Regions from separate parts of the Homo sapiens genome. Here region 1 is linked to region 2. The links are contacts of gene promoters, found by promoter capture Hi-C in human tissues and cell types (Jung and others, 2019). All regions are on one chromosome and are shown on one strand. Each heading gives the region's core, a stretch centred on a gene start or on the middle of the fragment in contact. The rest is flanking DNA. Distances are from core to core; before and after follow the strand shown. Region 1 overlaps RFC1 (replication factor C subunit 1). Region 2 holds the start of TMEM156 (transmembrane protein 156).

Region 1 (5,175 bases), core at 1,239-3,738, 320 kb after region 2:
GAAAGGCAGATTTTACTACACAAAAAGTGCCATAAACAAAGTTAAAATGCAAGCAACAGAGCTGGGCACTGTGGTGCACACCTACAGTCCCAGGTACCAGACAGGCTGAGACAAGAGGATTGCTTGAACCCAGGAGTTCAAGTTCAGCCTGGACAACATAGTGAAACTATCTCAAAAAAAAAAAAAAAAAAAAAAAAGCAACTAACTTAAAAACATCTACAACAGGCTGGACACAGTGGCTCACGCCTGTAATCCCGGCACTTTGGAGGCCGAGGCAGTTGGACTGCTTGAGACCAGCAGTTTGAGACCAGCCTGGCCAATACAGCAAAACCCCATCTCCACTAAAAATACAAAAATTGGCCATGTGTGGTGGTGCACACCTGTAATCCTAGCTACTCAGGGGGCTGAGGCACAAGAATCGCTTGAACCTGGGAGGCAGATGTTGCAGTAAGCCAAGAATGCCCCTTTGCACTCCAGTCTGGGCGACAGAGCGACACTCATCTCAAAAAAAAAAAAAAAAATACACACACACACACACACACACACACACACACACACACAACAGGCCAGGTGTGGTGGCTCACACCTGTAATCCCAACACTTTGAGAGGCCAAGGCGGGAGGATCATTTGAGCCCAAGAGTTTAATACCAGCCAGGGCAACACAGGGAGACCCCCATCTCTACAAATAAAAAAAAAAAAATCAGCCTAGTGTAGTGACACATGCCTGCATGCCTGTAGTCCCAGCTACTCAGGAGGCTGGGGTGGCACTTGCGCGCCAAGAGTTTGAGGCTGCAGTGAGCCATGACCATCACACCACTGTACTCCAGCCTGGGCAACAGAGCAATAACCTATCTTAAAACACACACACACACAAAACTTGTAAAAGGGTTCCTACAAATCAATAAAAGATAACCTAACCAATAGAAAAAATAAATAAAAGCTCCTAATAGGCAAAGTATAAAAGAAATGCAAATAGCCAACACACATAAAAAATGCTAGATGTCACAAATAAGCAGATAAGTTAAAACTTGATCATTTTCCCCTAAGTTTTAGAAGACTGATAATGCCCATATCTGTCAAGGATGTGGGGAAACAGATGCTCACGCACTATACTGCTGATAAAAGTGAAAACTGGTATAACCTTGGCTGGGCGCAATGGCTAACCCCTGTAATACCAGCACTTTGGGAGGCCGAGGTGAGTGGATCACGAGGTCAAGAGATCGAGACCATCCTGGCCGACATGGTGAAACCCCATCTCTACTAAAAATACAAAAATTAGCTGGGCATGGTGGCACACACCTGTAGTCCCAGCTACTTGGGAAGCTGAGGCAGGAAAACCGCTTGAACCCGGGAGGTGGAGGCTGCAGTGAGCCGAGATCATGCCACTGCACTCCAGCCTGGTGACAGAGCGAGACTTCACCTCAAAAAAAAAAAAAAAAAACACTGGTATAACCTTTATGGAAGGCAATCTAGCCACACTTACCAAAATTTTAAAGGTACATACCCTTTGCCCAGTAATTTCATTTCTAAAAGAAATGGTAGGCAGGGCGTGATGGCTCACACCTGTAATCCCAGCACTTTGGGAGGCCGAGGCGGGTGGATTACGAGGTCAGGAGTTCCAGACTGGCCTGGCCAACATGGCAAAACCCCATCTCTACTAAAAATACAAAAATTAGCCGAGCTTGGTGGTACGTGCCTGTAATCCCAGCTACTCAGGAGGCTGAGGCAGGAGAACGGCTTGAGCCCGGGAAGTGGAGGGTGCAGTGGACCAAGATCACGCCACTGCACTCCAGCCTGGGGAAAAAGTGCAAAACTCCGTCTTAAAAACAAAAAAATTCATTGAACACATGAACGGTTATTCCTCAGGCCACTGACCTTCACAACTGCACTCAGAAAGAGAGGTTCTTGATTATGTAAACCAAAATAAATGGTAGATTTGTTTTTAAAGATTATGTATTAAAAGAATCTTTTAATTGGGATTAACTTTGTGCTATGACTTTACCTAAGAAATTTTAAGAAGGTATTAAATTAATGCTGATTATATATTATTTCTGAGCTAAGTTAATAAAACTGAGTTTCTATAATTGATTTTCTGTTACTCTCATATTAAAACATTGTGGCTACAAAAAACAAAAATATACTTTCACTTTTAGTAGGACATTTCCTCTTCTTTAAAATTTATTTTAAGTCAAACTAATAACTTTTTTAAAGAAATCAGAAATATCTCTAGATTTATAATTGATGTTACTAATTTAACAGTCTAGCATGGGTCTCAAAAACTTCTCTGAGGAAAACACTGGTGAGTGAAATATAAGTGTGGTCTGAAAAACTTTTGAACAGTAACAAGTTCTAGCTAGGAAGAATTTTAAGAGCCCGCATCAACTTTTTTCATTCAATCATTCATTTATCCATTCAAGAAATATTTACTCAGAGCCTTTTATGGACCAAGAACTATTTTTGATGCTTGGGATAAACAAAACAGGCTAGGTCTCTGTTCTTGTGAAGCTTTCATTCTACTTTCTGTTCCTAATCTTTCTTTAATCCATCTTTAGAAAACAAAGCAGAGCACAGAAAAGAAAGAACAGAAGAAATAAAGCACACTGAGGGAACAGAAATAGAGAATAGAAACTACTTCCCCTACTCACCCCAGTATCTGTTAAGTCTACCTGAGAGGCCACTCCCATGACAGCAAAAAGACCCATTTCTACTGCTGTTGTGGCAAGAGGGAAGAATAAGATTCTGAAGTCATAATATTTACTATCATTGAGCTTTAGACTACGCATTCAATGAAATACTCTATCACAGAAGTTTCCAGGTACCTGATCCAAAAATACAAATCAACACAGGCATATTAAAATAGCAAATGGAAATAATTATCTAATTTAAGTTTAAAAAGCATCTTTTCATACCTGCATAACTGGGATAACTAAAGCATTTGAGACTGTTTATGCCTGATCTAATGGTTTATTTCAGAATTTTGACATTTTCACCAGGGCTAATGTACTCCGATTATGGTTTTTATTCATCCAGGAGCTAACTTTTTTTTTTTTTTCCCTTGAGACAGAGTCTTGCACTGTCGCCCAGGCTGGAGTGCAGTGGGGCGATTTCAGCTCACTGCAACCTCCAACTCCCAGGTTCATGCAGTTGTCCTGCCTCAGCCTCCCAAGTAGCTGGGATTACAGGTGCCCATCACCATACCCAGCTAATTTTTCTGTATTTTTAGTAGGGACAGGGTTTCACTATGTTGGCCAGGCTGGTCTCAAACTCCTGACCTCATGATCCACCTCCCAAAGTGCCAGGATTACAGGCATGAGCCACAGCGCCCGGCCCAGAAGCTAGCTTTTTACAACTGACTTCTGAGCCAAAAAAATCAAATTTAAACTACTTAAATGAACACAGAAATAAAGTCCAACTGGGCCAAGCGCAGTGGCTCACACCTGTAATCCCAGCACTTTGGGAGGCCAAGGCGGGTGGATCACCTGAGGTTGGGAGTTCGAGACCAGCCTGACCAACATGGAGAAACCCTGTCTCTACTTAAAAATACAAAAATAGCCAGGCATGGTGGTGCACACCTGTAATCCCAGCTACTAGGGAGGCTGAGACAGGAGAATCACTTCAACCTGGGAGGCAGAGGTTGCAGTGAGCTGAGATCGCACCATTGCACTCCAGCCTGGCCAAGAGCAAAATTCCGTTTCAAAAAAAAAGAAATTAAGTCCAAACTGAAAATAGACCTACAACATAATAAAATAACTGTATTTCTCTAGGCAATATTATTTGTCGCTAAGTGTTTTAATAGCTTAGATATAAAGTCATGCAACAGTGCGAGAGATGTTTTTATACCAGGAAGTTTTACCTTCTAGTTTATTTGTATTTTTAGTGGAAATATAAAGTTCACTTGTAATTATTCATTCCTCTAATATTTGTGGAAAACGCACCGTGAGCCACGCGCTATATGGCAGTTCCCTCTCCTTGTGACCCCTGCCCTTACAGAGCTTATATGCTAGTGAAGGAAGTTGTCAACACCTGCAACAAGTTGCTCATTTATTAAAATAAGCCAAAATGTGTGCCAAGGAAACAAAGCAGGTGCTCTCCCACTAATCATGCCAATTGTTTTTATGCTTTTGTGGATGAAAGCTACACATATTTTCCACGGAAATACGAAAAAACAAACATATGCACAAAACTTTGTATCCAATGTTAGGGGTTTTCCCCTAAAGCCTATTGGGAACCCCAAGTCAAAACTCCGGAACCACACACTCACACTGTGCGAACTAACTCACACCTACTTAACCCCAGTACCACTTATGTACATACCGATACTTCCTAAATCTTGTGTCTGTTTCTCCAGACCAGCTCTGAATTCCATATTTATGCAGCCAACATGCAGCCAAATCCATCCCATTGCAAATCTCCCAAAGGTGCCTCTAACTAATAATGTCCTCAACTAAATTTATCTTCAGCTGGGACCTGCTTCTCTCCCTTTATTCCCCATCTCCATGCATAGCACCACCATTCACCCAAAACAGAAACATGGCCACTGCTTTTCCTCCTCCCTCTGGCCCTCCACCTAATCATCCAACCTAAACGATCTCCCAAATACTGCTGTCTTCTCCCCTCTATTCCCACTGCCACTGCCTTGATTCAGGACTTCTTTTGTTTACTTAACACAACTTTCTAGAGGCCTCACTCTGTGCCATGCAATGATTTGAGCACTTTTAAAATATAAAGTCATTCAGCCCATCAATCAACAAGTAGATAAAGAAACTGTGGGAGATATATATATACAATGGAATACTACTCAATCATAAAAAGGAATGAATTAATGGCATTCGCAGCAACCCAGATGGGACTGGAAACTATTATTCTAAGTGAAGTAACTCAGGAATGGAAAACCAAACATTGTATATTCTCACTCACCCATAAGTGGGAGCTAAGCTATGAGGATGCAAAGGCATAAGAATAATACAATACGTGGTCGCTCAAGCCTGTAATCCCAGCACTTTAGGAGGCCGAGGCGGGTGGATCATGAGGTCAGGAGATCGAGACCATCATGGCTAACACGGTGAAACCCCATCTCTACTAAAAATACAAAAAATTAGCCAGGCATGGTGGCGGGCGCCTGTAGTCCCAGCTACTCAGGAGGCTGAGGCAGGAGAATGGCATGAACCCGGGAG
Region 2 (5,607 bases), core at 423-2,922:
AGCTAGCTAGCTAGATAGATATATAGATAGAACCTACTCCGGATAACTATTAAATGAGCTTACTCTCAGCCCACAATATCTTAAAAATAGATTATCTTTATTCTAACTATTCTCTTTATAACACATTTTCACCCAGTGGAATCAAGCACTGAAAATATGTGCTATGATTGCTTCATCTAAGTAACATAATGCCAGAAAACCAAATTGTAGTCATAGTGTTTATTTAGCAAAAATATTTTTAACTCGCTACTTAGCATCATGTAAATGCAACATCAAATAATCACTGAAATATGTCATCAAATATAATTAGCAAAAATATTTTTATCTGGCTATTTAGCATTACATATATGCAACAATAAATATTCATTGCAGCAAATAATCAAATATGAGTTTTTCTCTGATTTTAATCAAATTCATATAAAGACTATTTAATGATAGAATACAGCCTTTTCTTTTCACCTTTTCTTCTTATTAAATGCTAGGGAGCACAATTACCATTTGAACCTCACATTAATAAATTTTCAAGTCCTTTGCTAACATCAAAATAGTTTAAATTTATACCTATTTATTTTCCTAATCTAGGTTTCAGCAATTATATCACAATTTTCTGAAACGTTCACAAAGTTAATTTTGTTCCATTTTTCTCCAGTTACAAATACATACACATACATCTGTTTAAATTTCCACTCACCTTATTTTGATTGTATTTTCAAAATATATAAACGCTTTTTCTTGTCAAAAGGTGACGGTAAGTTATCTGTGTGAAATAGTTGTAGTAAAGGGAATTCTAGCATTTTTAACACAATAAATATCACTTTCTTCATTAAAGAATTCCAAAATGTAAAAAGCATACTTAAAGCTGCTTTGGGCCAGGCACAGTGGCACAAGCCTGTAATCTCAGCATTTTGGGAGGCCGAGGTGGGTGGATCACAAGGTCAGGAGTTCAAGACCAGTTTGGCCAACATGGTGAAACCGTGTCTCTACTAAAAATACAAAAATTAGCCAGGCATGGTGGTGGGCGCCTGTAATCCCAGCTACTCGGAGGCTGAGGCAGGAGAATTGCTTGAATCCGGCAGGCAGAGGTTGCAGTGAGCCAAGATTAGGCCATTGCACTCCAGCCTGAGCGACAGAGACTCCATCTCAAAAAAAAAAAATAAAAAATAAAAAAATAAAAAAAAACTGCTTTGAAGAAAGTGTTTCAAAGAGCAAAATCATGATGCAATTATTGTAATCTCAATGTCTGAAATCTAGACTACAGATTTTAAATATTTTCATTTTTAGGTATGCTATGATAATTAAGTACTATGAATTAGGTTACTGTACTATATAACAGTCAACTAAAATTGCAATCTTGTTTTATTAGTTTTTCAGATCTAGAACTTCAGCCTATGCAGCATGTGTCCAAAAAGAGGATCTTTTCTGTAACCACTAGCTGACACTAATTTTTTTAAATTAAGAAAGGAAAGCTAGATTACAATTATATACTCACCTTTCGGTGTCTTGAAATATTCCGGCAAAATTAAAATGAATGTGATCACTATTGCCACAAATAATTTAAGGAGGGCTGTTTTTGTCATGTCTCTTCACATGACACAAATGTGTTCCCTTGCAGTACATTCATGGTATGTTGCTTCCTGCTTTAAGTTTATCTCTGCAGCACTTTAGGTTAATGCAGTTCACCTCATACTCACTTCCTTTTGAGTAAGACTTAAAAAAAAAAAAAGGTCTTGAACTGAGACTTCACTTTTGAGTCACTTCCCATTAAAAAAAAAAACTACCCCCCAAATAAGCACTTTCAGACCATTTATTTGTCTTTCTAAGCAAGAAAGGTAAATAAATGATCTCAAGAAGCAAGGGGATCTTCTCCCCACCCAATTTATAAATATAAACCCACAGTATACTCACAAAAATAAAACGGTGGGCTGGGCGAAGTGGCTCACATCTGTAATCCCAGCACTTTGGGAGGCCAAGGCAGAAGGATCACTTGAGTTCAGGAGTTTGAGTCCAGACTGGTCAATAGAGCAAGCCCTCCTCTCTACAAAAATAATTTTAATATAGCTAGGTGTGGTGGTGCACTCCTGTAGTCCCAGCTACTCAGGAAGCTGAGGATCACTTGAACCCAGAAATTTGAGACTGCAGTGAGCCATGACAGGCCACTGCACTCCAGCCTGGGTGACAGAGTGAGATCCCTTCTCAAGAGAGAAAGAAATAAAAGGGTGAATGTCAGTCATGTCTAGGTTGCATGCACATGACTCATTCATTTACTTATTAAATGATTGTCGATCCTGTTTGGTGCCAGGTGCTGTGCTGAATTCTGGTGTTCAGAAAATAGTACATCTAGAAGATAGAAACATTTTAACCATTGCCAATTTAAAAGGAAAAAAAAGTATTGTTTAATTTGCATTTGTTTGGTTGACAGTAATTCTAAAGATTTTTAATATTTGCTGGCAATTTGAATTTCTTTTGTTAATTGCATGTTCATGTCTTTTATTGCAGCATTTATATCCTTCCTGTTGATCTATAAGACTTTTTTCTCTATTGGGAATATGAAATCTTTGCATATGTTTTGCAAACATTTTTCCCAGGTTGTCATTTGCCTTTTCATTTTGTATATGGTGGGAGTTTTTCCACCCAACTATTTTGTAACAGAGTATAAAACACGTACCTAAAAGTTTTATGCAGAGAAACACAGTTCTTCATTGTATTTCTAATATTACACGAAATAATGTATAGTTTATCAATTTAATCATTTATTCTTTTGTTTTTGTTTTTTGTTTTTTGAAACGGAGTCTCAATCTGTCTCCAGGCTGGAGTGCAGTGGTGCAATCTTGGCTCACTGCAACCTCTGCCTCCCAGATCCAAGTGATCCTCCTGCCTCAGCCTCCTGAGTAGCTGAGACTACAGGCATGCACCACCACGCCCAGCTAATGTTTTGTATTTTTAGTAGAGACGGGGTTTCACCATGTTAGCCAGGATGGTCTCGATCTATTGACCTCGTGATCTGCCCACCTCAGCCTCCCAAAGTGCTGCAGTTACAGGCGTGAGCCACCAAGCCCGGTCTCATTTATTCTTAAATACAAAGTTTACTTGCAGCCTGATTTTGGCTTCCTGAAATGCACCAAAACTCGGTCATCTCCCTTGAAGTGGCAACATCTGACTCTCTAACATCCTGTTAGGGTTGATGATAATACTAATGGCCCACATCTCCATAGTTTTGTTTTACAATTTCCAAAGCACTTTTACAAATATTAGATTATTTTTTAAAAACACAAATATTAGATTATAAAGGGGATTCTAGGAACTGCTAGAAATGGCTACAAATCTGCAATTACTTACCCACTGCAAGCTTCTCCTTCCTATTTCAATGAAGGAATAAGAGATTAACGAATCTCAAACACAAGAGGTTGTTGCTACTACGCTAGTGTTTAACTTTCCTAAGTCTTATATTTCATATCTGAGATCCAGGTTCTCAAAAATACTTTAATGTGTTTCTATTTCTAATCAAGACCAAACGTCTTAATTAAATAATTATGCATTCTGTGTTAGATACAAATGTTTAAAATTGAGAGGATCTTTTATATCAAGGAGGTGCTCTACCCTAGGAAAGCAAAAGCAATATACTTTTTAGAAAATTATAAATAGCAGCCTTAAAAAGGATAGTTTAAATTTAACTTCTACATATTTATTAATATACGAAATATACGCTTTTATATACTTTATATGAGTAATTTTTTTTCCTAGTTGAAACTGTCCTCTATCCCTTCACTATATTCTGTGGAAAGGTCTTTATTGGATCAACAGCAGCAGCAACAATCGATGGCATTTACTGAACATTTACTATGTGCTACTGCAGTGTTGAATGTTTTGTATGAATTATTTTATCCAATTCCCCAGCAACTCTCTCAGGGAGTTGCTGTTATTCCAATTGGATAGACAAAGAATATGGGGTATAGCGAAGTCAAGTAAGGGCTCAAAAGTCACATAGTTAATAAAGGGTGAAGCTAGGTGTCAAACCTAACTCTCAACCCAACACTCCATTATACCTCCACTGTCAGACTGTGTGGGAACATTTGTCAAGAAGGGCCACTTATAAAATAATAATCATAGCAAACACCAATACAGTTTTTACTATGTGCCTGATGCTGCACTAACCCAGGGTTTCTCACTGGTGGCACTATTGATATTTTGGGACAGGTCATTCTGTGTTGTGCGGGATATCCTGTACATTGTAGGATGTTCAACAGCTGGTTCCAGTAGCAGCCCTCTCCACCCCAGTTTTTATTTTTTTAATTAAAAAAAACAAAATTAAAAGACAGGGTCTCTATCACTTATGCTGGAGTGCACTGGCATGATCACGGCTCACTGTAGCCTCGAACTCCCAGGCCCAAGCAATCCTCCCACCTCAGCCTCCTGAATAGTTGGGACGATAAGCATGTGCCACCGGGCTTGGCTAATTTTAAATTTTTGTAGAGATGGGGCCTCACTATATTACCCAGGCTGGTCTCAAACCCCTGGCCTCAAGCAATCATCCCACCTCAACCTCCCAAAGCGCTGAGATTATAGGCATGAACACCACACCTGGCCTCCCCGCCCCAGTTTTGACAAACAAAAGAAAAAAAATGTTTCCAGATATTGTCAGATGTCCCTGGGGTGACAAAACAGCTCCCAGCTGAGAACCACTGCATGAAACGCTTCACTTATATTAGATCATTTAAAAAATTTTTTTTTATTTCCATAGATTTTTGGGGAACAGGTTATATGAGTAAGTTCTTTAGTGGTGATTTGTGAAATTTTGGTGCACCCATCATCTGAGCAGTAAACACTGAACCTAATTTGTAACATTTAATTGTTGTAACCACCTTATGAAATAGTTACTATCATTATTTCCATGTTAGTCACTTCAGGCCAGTTCTATTCTAGGTAACCTAATCAGCCAGAAAGTAAACTTAAAAGACAATCCATAACCTGGATCAGCCTAACTACTTATCTTTCTTTTCTTTTTTTTATTTTTGAGACAGGGTCTCGCTCTTTTGCCCAGGCTGGAGTGCAGTGGCACAAGCAAGGCTCACTGCAGCCTCAACCTCCTGGGCTCAAGCAATCCTCCCAACTCGGCTTCCTGAGTAGCTGAGACTACAGGCACACATCACCAGGCCCAGCTAATTTTTGTATTTTTTATTTTGTATTTATTTTGTATTTGTATTTGTATTTTAGAGAAGGGGTTTCGCCATGTTGGCCAGGCTGGTCTCAAGCTCCTAGGCGCAAGTGATCCACTCAGCCTCCCAAAATGCTGGGATTACAGGCGTGAGCCACCGCTCTTGGCCCCTAATTACCCCTAATTGTGTTACTGGCAGATAATCATCTACTTTGGCAACACAGCAATTCTTAGATTAACACATTTTTGTGGGGAAAAATAATCTCTTTTTAACAAGGTCTACCTGAGTATGGAGAGGGTCCCCGGAAATTCCAGTATCCTCATTCATTTTGTGGTCCATTCAAAAAATATTTACCCAACACTAACAAGACACTAGGCAGCGTCCTGAACGCTGGAGATCTAGCAGCAAGCACGCAAGGTTCTCACGCTCACATTCTAGTGAGAGCGTACATTCC

The links. The method cuts DNA at HindIII sites, captures the fragments that hold promoters and counts their contacts. A contact is called where the count stands out against the background at its distance.
Region 1: a fragment that was not itself captured here is called in contact with the fragment with the promoter of TMEM156 in region 2 in 1 of the 25 tissues and cell types used here (lymphoblastoid cells).

The regions. Positions count from the first base shown.
Region 1 is chr4:39,354,577-39,359,751 of GRCh38, forward strand. The region is part of intron 1 of RFC1 (replication factor C subunit 1); the gene reads right to left. Among named protein-coding and RNA genes, the nearest start is that of RFC1, 9.2 kb to the right of the region's middle. The HindIII fragment of the contact is 7,671 bases long and covers 1-5,175 here.
Region 2 is chr4:39,030,737-39,036,343 of GRCh38, forward strand. TMEM156 (transmembrane protein 156) reads right to left here and starts at 1,673. Exons shown (of 7, transcript NM_024943.3): 1 at 1,490-1,673. The coding sequence starts at 1,577. The HindIII fragment of the contact is 30,825 bases long and covers 1-5,477 here.